Linked DNA regions of Homo sapiens: all the other regions are linked to region 2. The links are contacts of gene promoters, found by promoter capture Hi-C in human tissues and cell types (Jung and others, 2019). All regions are on one chromosome and are shown on one strand. The core of a region is centred on a gene start or on the middle of the fragment in contact, and the rest is flanking DNA. Distances in the headings are between cores, read along the strand shown.

Region 1 (2,700 bases), core at 86-2,585, 260 kb after region 2:
AGCATCTCAGAGGTAGGACTTCTCAGGAATCGGCGGGAAGAAGCCCCCTTGATGGAGTCTGGTGGGGTTCAAGATCTGCAGGTCCCACCTTCCAGGGAACACCTGCACAAGTGAGACCTGCCCGATCAGCCCCGCGCTCCATCCGCAAACTGGGCAGATCCCAAGGGTGCCACGCGAGGACCCTGCACCTTGGCCGCTCCAGGGCGCCCCCCACCCGCGACCCCGGAAATCTCGCCCCTACCTGCTTCACCCTCGCCCCACCCACAGCGCACTTTTCGGGACCTCCCAGCGGCCCTTCCCCGGTTCTCTGGACCCCCGTCTCCCCGCCCTGCAACGCCCCCATCCTGGTGCCCACGAAAGGTCGTCCCAGTTCCCCTCTTCTCTACCTCAAAGGAGGAGGTGCAAATGAGGAAGCCTAAATAAAAACAGGAAACTCGATTTTTTTAAAAAGCCTCATTCAGGCTGAATTACGGGTAAGAGTATTTTTTTAAAAAGTCCGGAAATGCAAAGCTGGGGGCGGTTTTGCCGGCGTAACCCCGGCTCGGCCGCAGATCCGGAGCTGATCTCGCCTGCGCCGCTGCAGCAAACGCGGCGAGCAACGCGGGAGGCCCGGGACTGGGAGGCGGGGCGCGGGTCCACGAGCCGGGAGGAAGCCCCGAAAACTTCCACCCCGGCCCCTCTGCAGCCCCGCTCCCCACTTGCCCAGGCTGGGAAGGGCGCACAGGACCCGGGCGCCGGCGAACTGTGCGCAGCCCTCTCTCCGCGCCAGGGCACTCGGGCGACATCACCAGCGCGCTCTCTGTGGACCCCGCTGCCGTACAGAGGAGGCCCCTGGTCCTCTAGTCAGCGCTCGGAGCGGGCGCACGCGCTGAGCGCTTCCAGTATCCTCGCGCCTCAGCCGGCGCACCGGAGGCCGCACCGCCGCTGTGAGCGCAGCTGAAACCCCGCTGCCGGGCCAGGCGGGCAAGGCGCGCAGTGCAGGCGCCGGGGAGCTGCGCACGCCCCTCTCGGCGGGCCCACGGGGGACGGCCCCGGGCCTCTAGGGCAGCCCCCGCCCAGGTCCCAGCAGCCCGGCCCCCGGGGCTCCCAGGACCCGGCTCGCTAGACTCGGGGAGGCGCCCAGGGCCAGGGCGCACGGGCTGTGTGTGCCGGAGAGACGCCCGCCAGCCAGCCCCGCGCCCCCGAGCGCAGCCGCAGCTCCCAAAGCCCCTGGCCGCGGTCCTCTTCCCACCTCCCCTGACGCAGCCAGCGGCGATCGCTTACCGTCCCGGCGCAGCTGGCAGGGCTGGGCGGCTCTGCTCGCGGCCGCTCGGAGCGACTGCGCTGGGCGCGAGTGAGCCTCGAGGGAGGGAGGCGGGGCGCGCCGGGGCGCCCCGCCTGCCGCCAACCCGCACACTCCACTTCCCACTTTGTTTCCTTTTCACTTGCAACAGGAAAAACAACAGGTCCTCCAGGGCCTCGCCTTCCCCCGCCGCCCACACTCCCCAGTTCGCCTACCGCTAGAGGGGCATCATCCCAGGTGCCTCTGGAAGCTGCACCTTGCTTGCCCTTCTACAAAACAAGTTTTCTTTTTATGCAAAGGAAAACAACGAAATAAAGGTCCTAGGCGCCTTTAAGCGCTCCGCCTTCACGCAGGAAAGAATTTCAGCAGGAGCGGGAGAAAGGCTGAGAGCAGGAGAAGAAGAGGGGGTAACCTGCAGCTCTAGGCACCCAGGGACCCCAAGCGCCATTGCGAGGTGACCAGTGTTGGGGCTCAGGACACACACCCAAAATGTGACTATGGGAGACCAGCGTGTGCCACCCCAAAATATACTTCTTCGCCATATTTTGAAGGGATTATTCTTAGAAACTGCAGGCACAGGAGTAGATCTGAAAAGCTGTCCTTTTGTAAAATGATTTCTATCTATAAAGAAAATCTCCAGGCCTGGCACTGTGGCTCACTCCTGCAATCCCAGCAATTTGGGAGGCCGAGGCGGGAGGATCACTTGAGCCCAGGAATTCAAGCCAGCCTGGGCAACATAGGGAAACCCCCGTCTCTACAAAAAAATTAAAAATTAGCCAGTCGTGGTGGTGCACACCTTGTAGTCCCAGCTACTCGGGAGGCTGAGGTGGGAGGATGGCTTGAGCCAGGGAAATGGAGGCTGCAGTGATCCATGATGGCACCACTGCACTCCAGCCTGGGAAACAAAGTGAGACCCTGTCTCAAAAACAGAAAAGAAAAGGAAAATCTCCATTGGTAAAGTATTAGTATCAGGCGGAGGGCTGCTCAGAGCTAACTTTTCTTACCTGAGAAATTTTATCCGCATAAGAAGACAAGCTTCATTCACCTTACCCTCTCTCCCCTCACTCTCCCTTAACTTGTGTACCACCTCCCCAGGATCCCAAGCCTCTATTCCTTTTTTTCTTTTCTTTTCTTTCTTTTTCTTTTTTCTTTTCTTTTTTTTGAGACAGTCTTGCTCTGTTGTCCAGGCTGGAATGCAGTGGTGCCATCTCGGCTCACTGCAATCTCTGCATCCTGGGTTCAAGCAATTCTCCTACCTCAGCCTCCCAAGTAGCTGGGATTACAGGCACACGCCACGACACCCAGCTGATTTTCATGTTTTTTTGTTTGTTTTTTGTTGTTTTGTTTCTTTGTTTTGTTTATTTTGAGGAATCTTGTTCTGTTGCCCAGGCTGGAGTGCAGTGGCGTGATCTTGGCTC
Region 2 (2,700 bases), core at 60-2,559:
CATGCCGGTAATCCCATCTACTCAGGAGGCTGAGGCAGGAGAATCGCTTGAACCCGGGAAGCGGAGGTTGCGGTGAGCCAAGATCGCGCCACTGCACCTGAGCCTGGGCGACAGAGCGAGACTCCCTCTCAAAAACAAAAAAACCCCCCAAATGAGTAAAGAGTAATGTGGATATTATATTATAAACGAACAAACAAAAAAGGACTTCGTATTCTTTTTGCATAGGGAAGGGGAAGAAATGTGGAGTGGAAGAGGATGGTACAGAAAAGGTGTAAAAAGAAAGGCTGTGGGAGGAGTAGGGTAGGAGGGCTTCTGAACTGGGGTTAGTGTCACACTGTGTAACTGATAATTTAAACTGCTGAAAATGAGACCACACTTAAAGATACAGGTCCCTTTAAAAGGAAGGCGGATGTTAAAAGCAATTTGCATTTTACCTAAAATGGGCTGCTTCTCCCTGTACCCTCTCCAAATACAGCCAGACTTTCTGTAGAAACATTTTAATCATGGGCACCCTTCCCCCGAAAAATCCACTCACTACCAGTACACACGACCTTCTGAGTTTAATGGACCTACGGAGGCCCATCCCTGGGCTCTCTGGGCTAGGTTAATCCCAGGTTAGGCCCCAAGCTCAGAGGTAGCAACGTTCCCAGCTCAACGACGCAGGAAGACCACGCCTCTAAATGTTCTGCAACCTCGTCCATTTCAGAATTTTCCGGGGTTCTGGGTAAACTGGCCTCACCAAGGATTCTGCCCCGTCTTGTTGCTCCCGTTTTTAAACACAGACCGGTGTGTGGGAGAGGCCATTATTTTTCCGGAACACTGTGCTCCTGGAGCAGATAGGGACACGCAGAGTGGCTTTACCGCAGCGCCAGCTTCAGCCTTACCCGGCTCCTCCTCCAGGCCACCGCCTCCTCCTCGCGCCCAACCCGCCTTCCCTGCTCACCCCCGGCCCGCTCCTCCCCTTTGCTCTCAGCGCGGACTCGGCCACTCACTACCGGCGCCGTGTTCCACCCGCCCACCGCATGGCCCCGTCCCTATGTCGCTGGTCTCGCCCCCTTCCAGGAGGGCCCAATGAGCGTTCACATGCGCCACAAGGCCCCGCCCCGCACCGCGCAGCCCCGCCCACAGGCTGAGTTAACCAATTCGCGGCCCCGGGCCCCGCCCCGCCCGCAGGCCCCGCCCCGGCGCCCGGCCCCACGCGCCCGCCTCCCTCCGGGGCGTTGCCGCCGCCGCGCCTCAGCAGCCCGCGCGGAGCCAGATGCCGCCCCCTCCGCCGGTCCCTCCCCCGGCGGCCTGGCGCCTCCCTCCCTCCCCACCGCGGTGACTCTCGGAGCGGGAGGCGGAGGCTGAGGCGGCCGCTCCTGCTGCTGCTACTGCCGCCGCCGCAGCGGCTGCTCGGGCTGAGCACGCCCCGGAACAGGCCGCCGCGCGCTGCGCGCCGGACCCGCTGCCCCTGCCGGCCCGGCCGGGTCGGGCGGCCCAGGTAAGCGCCGAGGCCGGGCCGCGCCTGCACCGCCCGGGCCCGCGCCGCGCCGCGCCGGGGCTTGGGGGAGCGGCCAGCCCTTTGTCTGCCGGGGAGGGGCCGCGGAGAGCGCCCCCGACCCCGCTCGGACCCCTGACTGCCCCAGCGGCGCGGCGCCCTGGTCTGGGCCTGGCCGCCTCTCGCCGCAGACCACCTCCCGCCTCCCTGACTCTTCGCCCGGGGGTCGCCTCCACAGGTGTCCGCGCCGCCCACCTTGTTGCTCACCTCACCGCGTCCGGGTGCCTGTCATCGCCCGTCCGCCCTCCCGACCTCTGGGCCCCTGCCTCTTCCCTCACCTGCGCCCACTCTGAGACTCTTACTCTCCATATTTCCCCAAACTAAACGCTGGGCCGCCCTTCCTCCCTCTGTAGTTTGATTGAACTGTCGTCTCCCGATTCCACCCCTCCCCGGTGAGCCTTCCTGGAAGGTACCTGGTGGGGGCACATATCTCACCTGGATGGCGGGCGTGTATGCACGAACCTGCAAAATTAACCACCTGGAGCCCCAAACTGCACCTCTCACCTCCTTTTCATCACCCCACCCCAACCACCTTCCTTTTTTTGGAACCTGGTAACCGAGACACTCAGGTCTGGACACCCAGCCTCTGCTAGGCCCTCCATCCCTCCCTCTGCCTTGTGAGCTGAACTTGTCTGAGCAGTGCCTGTTGTCAGGTTAGCCCCTGGGAAGGCGGCGGGGGCCGTGTTGGCCGCAAATCAAGAGTTTTATGAATAATGAGACGTGTGGCTTGCACCACCTCCTGTCTGAGGATCTCAGTATGCTCCAGCTGTGAATTATTTTGTCTCCTGTCACTCACAGAACTGAGAGGAACATGTCTGGCCAACTGCTGGGTAAATTGAGGTACAGGGTGTGTGGGTAAGGGACCTGGAGGCAAGTCATGGTTTGTCTTGAAGTTCTGTTCGCAGGAGCCTTGGCTCTTAGCTCCCTGCTACAACCACTGGGCTCCAGTTCCTGGAGTGTGTCCCCAAGTGATAACTGATCTCTTGTGCCATTAAAATGTCCAGAGATACCAGCAGCTTCCTCAGATTTAAAGTAGGACTTTGGATCATAAATAAAGGTGCGGGCTGTTAAATGCCAATGTGTCATTCACGGTTTGCTGGGGGAGTTCGTGGTCCTCCCTTGTAAATACAAATCACCTCTATGGGATGGAGATTCATTCA
Region 3 (2,700 bases), core at 55-2,554, 270 kb before region 2:
GGAGGTTGCAATGAGCCAAAATTGCGCCACTGCACTCCAGCCTGGGTGACGGAGCGAGACTCCGTCTGAAAAAAACCAAAAAACAAAAAAAAGTACCTACTCAAATGAGGCCTATTCATGTCACTTTAGCACTCCAATCAAATTGCTGTGAAATTCACTACTCGATGTACCAAACCCAGAGGTTACAAAAAGTGAACGGTGTGCTCAGCTTTTTTTTCAAAAGATATTCAATCAATATCTTTTTAAAATCTACACAACACTGAGTCACAACACAAGGCAGATTTTAATCATCTTTCTCTCAAGGATCATTTCTCTTCTGCCAATCTGATTCTCTTATTTGACAATCTTCCTTTTAGCCAAGACCTACTTTTAATATATTTTGGGATTTATTTCAATATCCACAATTAAGAGACTGCAGACAAACACAAAACAGCAACTCTTGAGACTCTAAAAATGGAAACCCAAATCATCTTCCCCCTATAGATAGTACAGGCAGGAGACTGACTGTGTCTCTGTCCTATCCGGCAGGTCCTTGAAACCTCTGAATTATTCAAAACGACAAGTGCATATGGCGGTATAAAGCAGCATTTTATTACATTCACGGGGACAACTGGAGGATTAAAATAAGAGTTTGGAATCTGGGATGGAGAGGAGACAAGCAGTACACACTGGTCAGATAACCACACAAACAAAATTAGGCAAGATGCCAGTCAGTATCCTAATTCTACAGGCACTAAGCTTAGATATGTAAGTTTAGTAAAAAGTAAACCCAATTAAACAGAATCTTCTGCATGGTGAGAATATGGATTTTTTTTCTTTTTGCTTATATTGCCTAAAATTTTTGCTATCATGAACTTTTTCCTTATTTATTGTGTCTATCTATCTATCTATTTTTTGAGACGAAGTCTCACTCTTGTCCCCTAGGCTGGAGTGCGATGGCGCGATCTCAGCTCACTGCAACCTCCACCTCCTGGGTTCAAGCAATTCTCCTGCCTCGGCCCCCCGAGTAGCTGGGATTATAGGCACCCACCACCACGCCCAGCTAATTTTTGTATTTTCAGTTGAGATGGGGTTTCACCATGTTGGCCAGGCTGGTCTAGAACTCCTGACCTCAGACGATACACCTGCCTTGGCCTCCCAAAGTGCTGGGATTACAGGCGTGAGCCACCGCACCTGGCCATGTTATATATATATATATAAATATATATAAATAAATATATATGTAAATATATATAAATATATATTTTTTCTTTTTTGAGACGGAGTCTCGCTGTCACCCAGGCTGGAGTGTGATGACGTCATCTCGGCTCACTGCAACCTCCACCTCCCAGGTTCAAGCAATTCTCCTGTCTCAGCCTCCCGAGTAGCTGGGACTACAGGCGCTGCCACTACGCCCGGCTAATTTTTTGTATTTTTAGTAGAGATGGGGTTTCACCATGCTGGCCAGGCTGGTCTCGAATTCCTGACGTCAGGTGATCCATCCGCCTCAGCCTCCCAAAGTGCTGGGATTACAGGCGTGAGCCACCGGGCCCGGCCTGAGGAAGAATCTTGAAGGTCAGGGAAGATACTTGAGATAAAGCAGAAGAAACTCAAGAAAGGCAGAAGACTGAATATGACAAAGCTTACCCCCTCAAATCAGCAAACAGTGAAATGAGAACCAAATGTCGAGACTGACATGAATAAGAAAGTTTTCTTTTAAAAATAGCAGCTCCTAATTGGATCCAGGAAAGATCATTCACCACATGCAAACTCACTTGGCTCTTGTTTACCCACCCGCCCTGCCCTTTTTTTTTTTCCACAAAAGAGAAGAGACTCAAAGAAGATTTCTTCTGAACGTGTGTCACCATTTATTGTAGTTTGCGTTAGGAATTGAACAGAGGACATTGTCTGTGGAGGGAAAAAAGGAAAAGAAAAAAGAAAGTATGCTTTTTATAGACTTAATTTCTTCAGAACACTTTATGGTTTCAAATCCTTTTTTTTTTTTTACCCCAAAGGAAATTTGAGAATTCAAGTATGTTAAGTAGGGAGCAGTAATACAAAAAGTCTTATACTTGTGTGCGCGTGTGGCTGTGTTTGTCTGTGTGTGTTGAAACCGGCAGACATACTCCCACATTCTTGCACCCTCTTTTGCTTTGGTAAGGCCAAACACATCACACAAATGACCCTGCCTCAAACTCACACACCCAAGGGTTGAAGAATTGATTTACCCCCAGAGGATAACTGTGAAGGTTTCAAACTGTCACGTAGCATTAAAAAAAAAACCCAACCCTCATCTCCCCAAAATATAAGTCACATAAGTCCTGATACACTTACACCCCTAGATTTTGCTGCAGCTGCTCCTCAGATGCCGAAGAGAGGCTTATCACAAGGACCAGAGCAGCAGGATTTTCTTTATTTTGTTTAGAATAAAAAAATCTTAAAGGGACATTTCAAAAGAAAAAAAAAACTGAAATTCAAATTCTGAAAATATCTTGCCTTTTTTATTAATCATGTCATCTAACACCAATTAAAAAAACAAATATGTGAATATGATATAAAAATACGATCCCAGGATTAACACTTGGTAGCAGGCACAGTTATCTCACAGAATATATGTTTGGAGGGCCAGGGAAAGGAGTTTACTTTTGTTTTTGCTTCTCTTAAAAAAATCCACAGCAGTGCAAGTAGGGTCAGGAAGGGGGAGAGGGGAAAAAAGATTCT

The links. Contacts are between HindIII fragments. The study calls those that stand out against the background at their distance.
Region 1: the fragment with the promoter of PIK3CD here is called in contact with the fragment with the promoter of CTNNBIP1 in region 2 in 3 of the 25 tissues and cell types used here (adrenal gland, small bowel and spleen).
Region 3: a contact is called between a fragment that was not itself captured here and the fragment with the promoter of CTNNBIP1 in region 2, in 2 of the 25 tissues and cell types used here (dorsolateral prefrontal cortex and hippocampus).

What each region holds. Positions count from the first base shown.
Region 1 is chr1:9,650,366-9,653,065 of GRCh38, reverse strand. PIK3CD (phosphatidylinositol-4,5-bisphosphate 3-kinase catalytic subunit delta) reads right to left here and starts at 1,335. Exons shown (of 24, transcript NM_005026.5): 1 at 1,264-1,335. It overlaps PIK3CD-AS1 (PIK3CD antisense RNA 1), which reads left to right. Exons shown (of 2, transcript NR_027045.1): 2 at 1-456. RefSeq lists an enhancer at 283-352 and a silencer at 533-1,422. The HindIII fragment of the contact is 15,008 bases long and covers 1-2,700 here.
Region 2 is chr1:9,908,878-9,911,577 of GRCh38, reverse strand. It overlaps CTNNBIP1 (catenin beta interacting protein 1), which reads left to right and starts at 1,309. Exons shown (of 6, transcript NM_020248.3): 1 at 1,309-1,483. RefSeq lists enhancers at 1-40, 41-714 and silencers at 862-1,461, 1,472-1,531, 1,702-1,761. The HindIII fragment of the contact is 11,728 bases long and covers 1-2,700 here.
Region 3 is chr1:10,180,363-10,183,062 of GRCh38, reverse strand. It overlaps UBE4B (ubiquitination factor E4B), which reads right to left. Exons shown (of 28, transcript NM_001105562.3): 28 at 1,824-2,700. Among named protein-coding and RNA genes, the nearest start is that of KIF1B, 29 kb to the left of the region's middle. The HindIII fragment of the contact is 5,206 bases long and covers 1-2,700 here.